3 separate regions of the Homo sapiens genome follow, and regions 1 and 3 are each linked to region 2. The links are contacts of gene promoters, found by promoter capture Hi-C in blood cells and fetal thymus (Javierre and others, 2016). All regions are on one chromosome and are shown on one strand. Each heading gives the region's core, a stretch centred on a gene start or on the middle of the fragment in contact. The rest is flanking DNA. Distances are from core to core; before and after follow the strand shown.

Region 1 (2,888 bases), core at 318-2,817, 640 kb before region 2:
GCTCCTGGGGCTTCCCTTCTTGTGAAGATGGAAACAGGAAAGCAGCATCCAGCTCAGTGCTTGGGTTCTGAATCATCACAACCATTTTATGGAAATAACCAAGTATTATTCTTCAGGAAAAGATTGGAGATTCCTGATATAAGAGATATTTATATACTTGATACCTTACTCAATCTTCAGAGTGACTAGTTGAAAAGTAAGGCTACTGTAGCCTTGTAGTATAGTTTGAAGTCAGGTAGCGGGATGCCTCCAGCTTTCTTCTTTTTGCTTAGGATTGTCTTGGCTATACGGGCTCTTTTTTGGTTCCATATGAAATTTAAAGTAGTTTTTTTTTTTTTCTAATTCTGTGAAGAAAGTCAATGGTAGCTTGATGGGAATAGCATTGAATCCATAAATTACTTTGGGCAGTATGGCCATTTTCACGATATTGATTCTTCTTATCCATGAGCATGGAATGTTTTCCCATTTGTTTCCTCTCTTATTTCCTTGAGCAGTGGTTTGTAGTTCTCCTTGAAGACGTCCTTCACATCCTTTGTAAGTTGTAATCCTAAGTATCTTATTCTCCTTGTAGCAACTGTGAATGGGAGTTCATTAATGATTTGGCTCTTTACTTGTCTATTGTTGCTATCTAGGAACACTTATGATTTTTGCACATTGATTTTGTGCAAACCTTCAACAAACCTGACAAAAACAAGCAATGGGGAAAGGACTCCCTATTTAATAAATGGTGCTGGGAAAAACTGGCTAGCCATATGAAGAAAATTGAAACTGGACCCCTTCCTTACGCCTTATGCAAAAATTAACTCAAGATGGATTAAAGATGTAAATGTAAAACCCCAAACCATAAAAACCCTAGAAGAAAACCTAGGCAATACCATTTACAACATAGGCACGGGCAAAGACTTTATGACTAAAACACCAAAAGCAATTTCCACAAATGCCAAAATTGACAAATGGGATCCAATTAAACTAAAGAGCTTCAGCATAGCAAAAGAAACTAGCATCAGAGTGAACAGGCAACCTACAGAATGGAAGAAAATTTTTGCAATCTACACATCTGACAAAAGCCTAATATCCAGAATCTACAAGGAACTTAAACAAATTTACAAGAAAAAAAAACCCCATCAAAAAGTGGGCAAAGTATATGAGCAGACATTTCTCAAAAGAAGACATATATGCGGCCAACAAACATATGAAAAAAAGCTCATCATCACTGATCATTAGAGAAATGCAAATCAAAACCACAATGAGATACCATCTCGTGACAGTCAGAATAGCAATTATTAAAAAGTCAGGAAACAACAGATGCTGACAAGGCTGTGGAGATATAGGAACGCTTTTATATTCTTGGTGGGAGTGTCAATTAATTCAACCATTGGGGAAGACAGTGTGGCGATTCCTCAAGGATCTAGAACCAGAAATACCATTTGACCCAGCAATCCCATTGCTGGGTATATACCCAAAGGATTATAAATCATTCTACTATAAAGATACATGCACACATATGTTTATTGCAGCACTATTTATGAAAGCAAAGACTTGGAATGAACCCAAATGCCCATTAGTGATAGACTGGATAAAGAAAATGTGGCACATAAACACCATGGAATACTATGCAGCCATAAAAAAGAATGAGACCATGTCCTTTGCAGGGACATGGATGAAGCTGGAAGCCATCATTCTCAGCAAACTAATACGGGAACAGAAAACCAAACACCACAAGTTCTCACTCATAAGTGGGAGTTGAACAAGGAGAACACATGGACACAGGGAGGGGAACAACACACACTGAGGCCTGTCAGTGGGTGGGGGCTAAGGGGAGAAAGAGCATTAGTACAAACACCTAATGCATGCGGAGCTTAAAACCTAGATGATGGATTGATAGGTGCAGCAAACCACCATGGCACATGTATACCTATGTAACAAACCTGCACATTCTGTACATGTATCCCAGAAGTTAAAGTAAAATTTTAAACAATTTAAAAAAGAAAAGTAAGGCATCCCTAATATCCAATGCCCTCATTCATACACACATAATACATTAGAATTGTGTATTCTAATGTAGATTAGGGAGAACAGCAGGAGGGAGATAGTTGTGGACTGAATGTTTGGGTCCTCCTGCAAATACATATGTTGAAGTCCTAACCCCCCAGGGTAATAGTATTAGGAGGTGGGGACTTTGGGTGGTAATTAGGTCATGAGGATAGAGCCCTCATGAATGGGATTAGTGCCCTTATAAAGTAGGCCACAGAGAGTCATCTTTCTGCCATGTGAGGATACAATGAAAAGTTGACAGTCTGCAACAAGAAAGAGGGCCCTCACTAGACCTTGATCTCAGACTGGTATCCCCTGATCTCAGACTTTCGGCCTCTAGAACTGTGAGAAATAAATATGTTGCATACAAGCCACCCAGTCTTTGGTGTTTGGTGATAGCAGCCCGAACTAAGTACTCACACTTCAGTCTACTTGTAATATTCATTAGATCAAATCAGTCAATAATATGGCACTTTACCCCAGGTAATAATTTTATACCTACAAATGCAGCTTATGTAATTGCTTGAGTGAAGTCTTTTAAAACCAGGTTATCATTTTATTACTATTTTATTAGATATTAGTGTAATGATTGATGGGTGGAAACAACATTAATGCTACTCTGTGTTAGGTCAGGGCTTACAAAGATAAAAAGAACTAGATTTTACTCTCAAATTGCTTATGCTCTAGCACAAAGGCGTATGGCCAATCAAATATTAAACTACAGTAAGATAATTGCTAAAGGGAAGTTGGTGTTTTCAAGACCCCAGAAAACTTAACTCTTCTCTGAGTTCTGAACTACTTTGAGAAGTAGATAATAGAGGTCAGACAGGAATAAAAAATGGCCTTTCTTGCTA
Region 2 (2,706 bases), core at 189-2,688:
GCATTTAGGTTTTATAATTTTAATTGATGTATGGACACACACAAACAAAAAAGCATGAAGGAAGATTTGGATCCAAGCAGTGCCACACTTTACATCATCACTACAAGTGTTCAAGTGTAAAGAAAACCAATTTTGAAACTATGAAATTCCTGATTCATAAATACACAGTTATTTCTACTTTAGTACATATAAGATAATTCACTGTTATTAAAGCTCTTTTATTAAGGCAATTGCATATGTTTTAAAAGCAATGGTAAATTAAGTTGTCTTCCAAAACTGTGTACTTGTCTGGTCAGCTGTGTATGATCAGTTATCTACCTCAGAGTCTATTTTCTTTTGTGCTGGGACAGGTTGCTGGCCCTCCCTGTTTCCACAGACCAAATCCTCCTAGCTCAGGAGCTAGGGCTAAGCAGTTATTTCTTTCAAGTATTTTTTAGTTCTTAAATTTTATGCTTGTATTTGATGATAGATGTCAGTGACATTTCATAGTTTCAAAAGTCCTTGCTGCTCTGAGAAGTGTAGATTCTAGTGAAAATTACATAGTCATAAGAGAAATGTGTTTTTGTTTTTGTTTTTGTTTCATTTTTTTAAAGTTGTGGTATTATTGGTTCTATGCTCCCTGGAATATTACTGCTTTGTGAAAGTCCAGACTGAACGCAGCACCCTCTGTGTACCTAGTACAGTTATAAACCTGGGTCTCTCACTACTTGATATTTTTGCATTAGTTAAGACAGAAATTTGATAGCTCGGTTAGAGGGGAGGGGAAATCTGCTGCTAGAAATGTCTGAACTAAGTGCCATACTCGTCTGGGTAAGATTTGGGAAACATAACCTCTGTACATAAAAAAAAAAAAATCAGTTAAACATCACATAGTAGACAGCCATTAAATTATAAAAAAATTAATTTATGAAGAAAGACCTTTTGTACAGATTGAAAAAAAAAGATTTTCATAGAGATATCTATATGATCAAGAGAGTTAATTTTTTATTTTTGTTTTACTAGTGCCACAGACTTGCCAGTGGTAACTTATTTGTCCGGTTCAAGATAACTCTGTAGTTTTCTTTCCTAGGACTTGTTGTTAAACGCCAAAAGACATTTTTGAACTGTACATTTGATCAGATTGTTAGCTTTTCTGTTTTATTTCTTTTGAGAACCTTTGAATAAAAAACATCTGAAATTTTATTTTTCCTGTCAATTTTTTTTAAGTCGATTAAGTGTATATCAGAATTTCATTTCATTTCTGATCTCTTTCTTCAGCTCAGTAGATTGGTTTGAAAGTGAGTTGAAAGTTATGTCAGATTCAATATATCCTCAAAATACATTTCCTTGAAAACAATTGGAAAAACCTTTCCACCCCACTTTTGCTGGTTATTTAAATCTGTGTAATGACCAGAGACGTCAACCCTCAGCTCAGCACGTCAACCGTCAGCTCAGCACGTCAACGGTCGGCTCAGCAAATATCCAGCCCAAAATACACCACTAGTGGTCTGTTCTTAAAGACCAAAAAACCAGGCCCTTTTTCTTCCTCCTTTCTTGCTGCTACGCCTCAACTATTTCATTGCTTGTCAATGCTCAGCAAGGAAGACAGCCTAACAGCAGCCCTCCCACCTGTGGTAAGGAAGCATGTGGGCGAGAACCTCGGGATAATCTTATCTATGCGTTTATGACCAAGGTCCTCTTTCAGAGCTACCTGTTCAGCTGTTCCCGACTGGAGGCTCCCGTGCAGCATTCACGGAGGAGCGAGAACTCCTCTTTCCCTCACTTGACTGCTTTATAGGAGGCACTTAATATGCAAAATAGGCTCCTTCTGCCCAAAGTGGAGTAAACGTTTTAGTGTGGTGGTTCAGTATTTATTTCCTGGTGTCCAGTGGCTCTGTCATGGTGATAAAAAGAGTGGGCAAGGAAAAGATGCAGTCCGCTCCATTTCTGGCTGCGTCCCCTGCCATGTGGATGGTGTGCGGGGTGAGTTAGATAAGGGAGGGGTCAGAGCACTTAACTTGCCGGAGCCAAGAAATCGCTGGTACTTGATGGCTGTTTCAGAGAAGGAAACAACATTCCTCTGATGCTAACTGGTGCTTCTGAGAGCAAAATGTCAGGGAGGAGAGAAGCATGGCCTCTCGAGACAAACCCAGGCTGCTAAGAATGTAAGCTCTGGTCTCACTTTGCGTTCCAGCCAAACACCTAAGTGCTCCTTTCTATGACCAAAGGTAAGAAAGAAATGCAATTCAGGCTCCTGGGCACCTTCGTTTTTGTTCACCCTATTTTTGTTGTAGCTTCTCGCCGCTGAAGTCCGCGGCCCTCTATCTGGCTGTGTTATGTACTGAAACCGGTAAACATACTCAGGAGCACCAATCCACGGAAAAGGGAGGATCAAGCCAGCGATGGTGGTTCACAGTTACCGCTCCCATATAACTAGAGGGGTTGTGGCATGTTTGGGGATAAACCCCACCTAGCTGAAAGCTCTGAGACTGAAGTGGAATTCTGGGGTTGGAGGAGAGGAAAGAGGGTGTGGCCGTTGCTCTGTGGTCTACGTATTTTCCCCTCTATAGTGGCTGGAATGAGGAAAGCCAGGGAGTGGAGGCGGGAGTCCCGTTTTTCACCCCACTGCCACACCCTTCATGGCCAGTGGCTCTAGGTTTATCCGCTGGAGCTTAAATCCCACAAATACTGATTTAAAATTCACTAGGAGAAAGGCAGTGCCTCCCA
Region 3 (2,700 bases), core at 78-2,577, 660 kb before region 2:
CTGCTATTTGGTCAGATAGATACCTTCTCTTCCCAACTCACTGATCCCAGAGGCTGACCTATAGGGAGGCATCCACTAGGATCTCCCCCTCTCTGGCTTCTGATTGGCTCTGTGGCCGGTGGACTTCCCAGTGGCTAATCGCAGGAAAGGGGGAGGGTAAACAAGGTATTTGTTTCCTGGGCTTCCTCTTTGCTGTGTTGCTTGCAGATGCCTTCTACATCTCATAGGATTTTCTCTTTCCCAATTCCCACAGTGACTCAGGCCTCTTGTCCCTTTGGGCCCAGATGTGATAACATCTCCTCTGATGTTACTCTCCCTGGAGCATTGCACTATTCCCCTAACCCTGCCTGCACTTTGTAAACAGTCCCTCTGTAAATAAACTCTCCTCCAATCTAATGTGAGTCTGCCATTTCCTTTCTATAGAAATCTTGACTGAAACAGATATGGTTAGTAATATTTTGTAACTATGTAATATTTTATGGCTTGTACATTTCTTCTATATTTATTTTTTTATTTTTACAACATAATATGGTTTAAGTAGGTTTTTTTAAAAAATCAACATTTTATGAATAAGAAAACTGAGGCCAAGAGAAGTTAAATAAAATGTCACCCAGCTGGCCAGTGGGAGAAGCAGAGAGCAAGCCTGGTTTAATGCCTTCATTTGTAACTCTTTTCACTTCTTCAAGCTGTCAATCCCCCTCCTTCCCCACCACAAGTTATATAAACTGATACCATTACCTGATACAAGTACAATTGAAGTTATATTGTTTTCTTAACATAAACACTGAAAGAATCCACGTATTTGTTTCATTTGAGGCTAAGACCCCTCTGAGGAGTGGGAGAGAAAGGCTCTCACAGGCAAGCTTCTTGGCAGTGTTGCACATGATCTTATGCATCTGCCTCTTCCACAACCTGGTCTCTGAGGATCCTTCCATCCAACAGTGGCTTAACCACTCACTCCTTTGGCTCCCTCTATTCTGAGGCAGCCTCTACCATAGAATCCCTAATAGTTTCGTCTGTATCTCTACCTCTTCCTGCAGATTGGCAGCTCCCTAAATGCAGGGTTCTATTTTGTTTTTTCCATTTGCTACTGTATCTCCAATTTGTAGCCTAATTCTGGGTGCACAGTAGATGCTCAATAAGTATTTGTTAACTGAATAAAAGAGCATCTATATGTCTGGTGTATCCGTATACCAGTACATTATAAAATCATGGGGCTACACACAGTGGTTCATGCTTGTAATCCCAGAAGTTTGGGAGACTGAGGCAGGAGGATCACTTGAGCCCAGGAGTTCCAGACCAGCCTGGGCAACACAGGGAGATACTGACTCTACCAAAAATTAAAAAAATTAGCCAGACATGGTAGTGTACACCTGTGGTCCCAGCTACTCAGGAGGCTGAGGTGGGAGGGTCAACTGAGCCATCCCAGGGGAGGTTGAGCCTATAGTAAGTTGTGCTTGTGCTGCTGCACTCCAGCCTGGGCAACAGAGTGAGACCCTGTCTCAAAGATAAATAAATAAAATATCGTGGAGTCACTTCCTACTTCTCAGTCTTTCTTATCCTCTATTCTCACCGGTTGCTAATTTCTGTTTATTCTACTTTTGGAATCTCTGTTAGATACGTTTATTCCTTCTCATTCTTACTGTCACTACCCTAATTCAGGGTCTCAGTGCTGTTTCCTTGAAGTCAGTTGTAAAAGTTTTGTAAAGTAACTTCTCCTTTTTGCCTGCACGCATGCCAGAGTGGTCTTCCTAGAGTCGACCTCCGATCATCTTACTCATCACAAGCTTTTAAGGGCTACAAAGCAACAATTAAGACACAGCATATCATTCAATGCCAAGAACCTTGCTACACATTTATTTCCCCAAACATCCTTTTATATCCTCTTCTTTTGAGCCCCCCTGAACTCCATCCTGTCTGTCTTCTAGTTTCTTCCCACCTCCATGCCTTTGCTGGTACTATCATAACATCTGAAATACCTGTCTTTCTCTGGTCTATTTGTGTACAAGGCTATGGTATGAAGCCACTTCTTCCATGAAATATTTCCCAATTGTGCTCTTGCTAATCTTTTTTTAGAAGTAATTTTTTTCTGGGTTTGAATTCTCATAGTACCTTATCTATATCATTTTAGTAGTATTTAATACCATCTGTGTATTAGGATTATTTATGCTACCACTCTGTGTCTCAAACAAGACAGTAAGATACTTAAGTTCAAGATACATATTTAATTATCTTTGTATCTTTCTTATTATTAATACATATGGTATTTCATATTTAGGACATATTGATAAATATTTGCTAAATTAATATGTGTAATTGCATAAATAAAGCATTGACAAGAAATGGGGCATCTGTATCAATGCAAGGCTAGTGAATGAGGTGATCCTGAAGCATGAATATAAATCAGAGGGATACATCACTGTAGCAAAGACATAGAGGTAAAAGAAAGTGCCTGTGTCACTTGACCCCCAGAGAGGGTGTATTAGGGTTTTCTAGAGGGAAAGAACTAATAAGATATATATATGTATATAGCTCTCTCATATATTTGAGTTTCTTAAGTAGTATTAACTGACACCATCGTAAGGTCCCACAATAGGCCGTCTGCAAGCTGAGGAGCAAGGAAGCCAGTCCAAGTCCCAAAGCTGAAGAACTAGGAGTCTGATGTTCAAGGGCAAGAAGCATCCAGCACGGGAGAAAGAT

Evidence for each region. The method cuts DNA at HindIII sites, captures the fragments that hold promoters and counts their contacts. A CHiCAGO score of 5 or more calls a contact.
Region 1: a fragment that was not itself captured here is called in contact with the fragment with the promoter of LINC02478 in region 2 in 2 of 17 cell types (non-activated CD4 T cells and activated CD4 T cells); the score reaches 6.1 in non-activated CD4 T cells.
Region 3: a fragment that was not itself captured here is called in contact with the fragment with the promoter of LINC02478 in region 2 in 6 of 17 cell types (monocytes, total CD8 T cells, activated CD4 T cells and 3 more); the score reaches 8.5 in monocytes.

The regions. Positions count from the first base shown.
Region 1 is chr2:160,913,653-160,916,540 of GRCh38, reverse strand. No RefSeq gene overlaps it. Among named protein-coding and RNA genes, the nearest start is that of TANK-AS1, 250 kb to the left of the region's middle. The HindIII fragment of the contact is 6,579 bases long and covers 1-2,888 here.
Region 2 is chr2:160,270,627-160,273,332 of GRCh38, reverse strand. It overlaps LINC02478 (long intergenic non-protein coding RNA 2478), which reads left to right and starts at 1,438. Exons shown (of 2, transcript NR_103775.1): 1 at 1,438-1,613. It overlaps RBMS1 (RNA binding motif single stranded interacting protein 1), which reads left to right. Exons shown (of 14, transcript NM_016836.4): 14 at 1-1,182. RefSeq lists an enhancer at 2,621-2,706. The HindIII fragment of the contact is 15,786 bases long and covers 1-2,706 here.
Region 3 is chr2:160,930,741-160,933,440 of GRCh38, reverse strand. No RefSeq gene overlaps it. Among named protein-coding and RNA genes, the nearest start is that of TANK-AS1, 230 kb to the left of the region's middle. The HindIII fragment of the contact is 924 bases long and covers 866-1,789 here.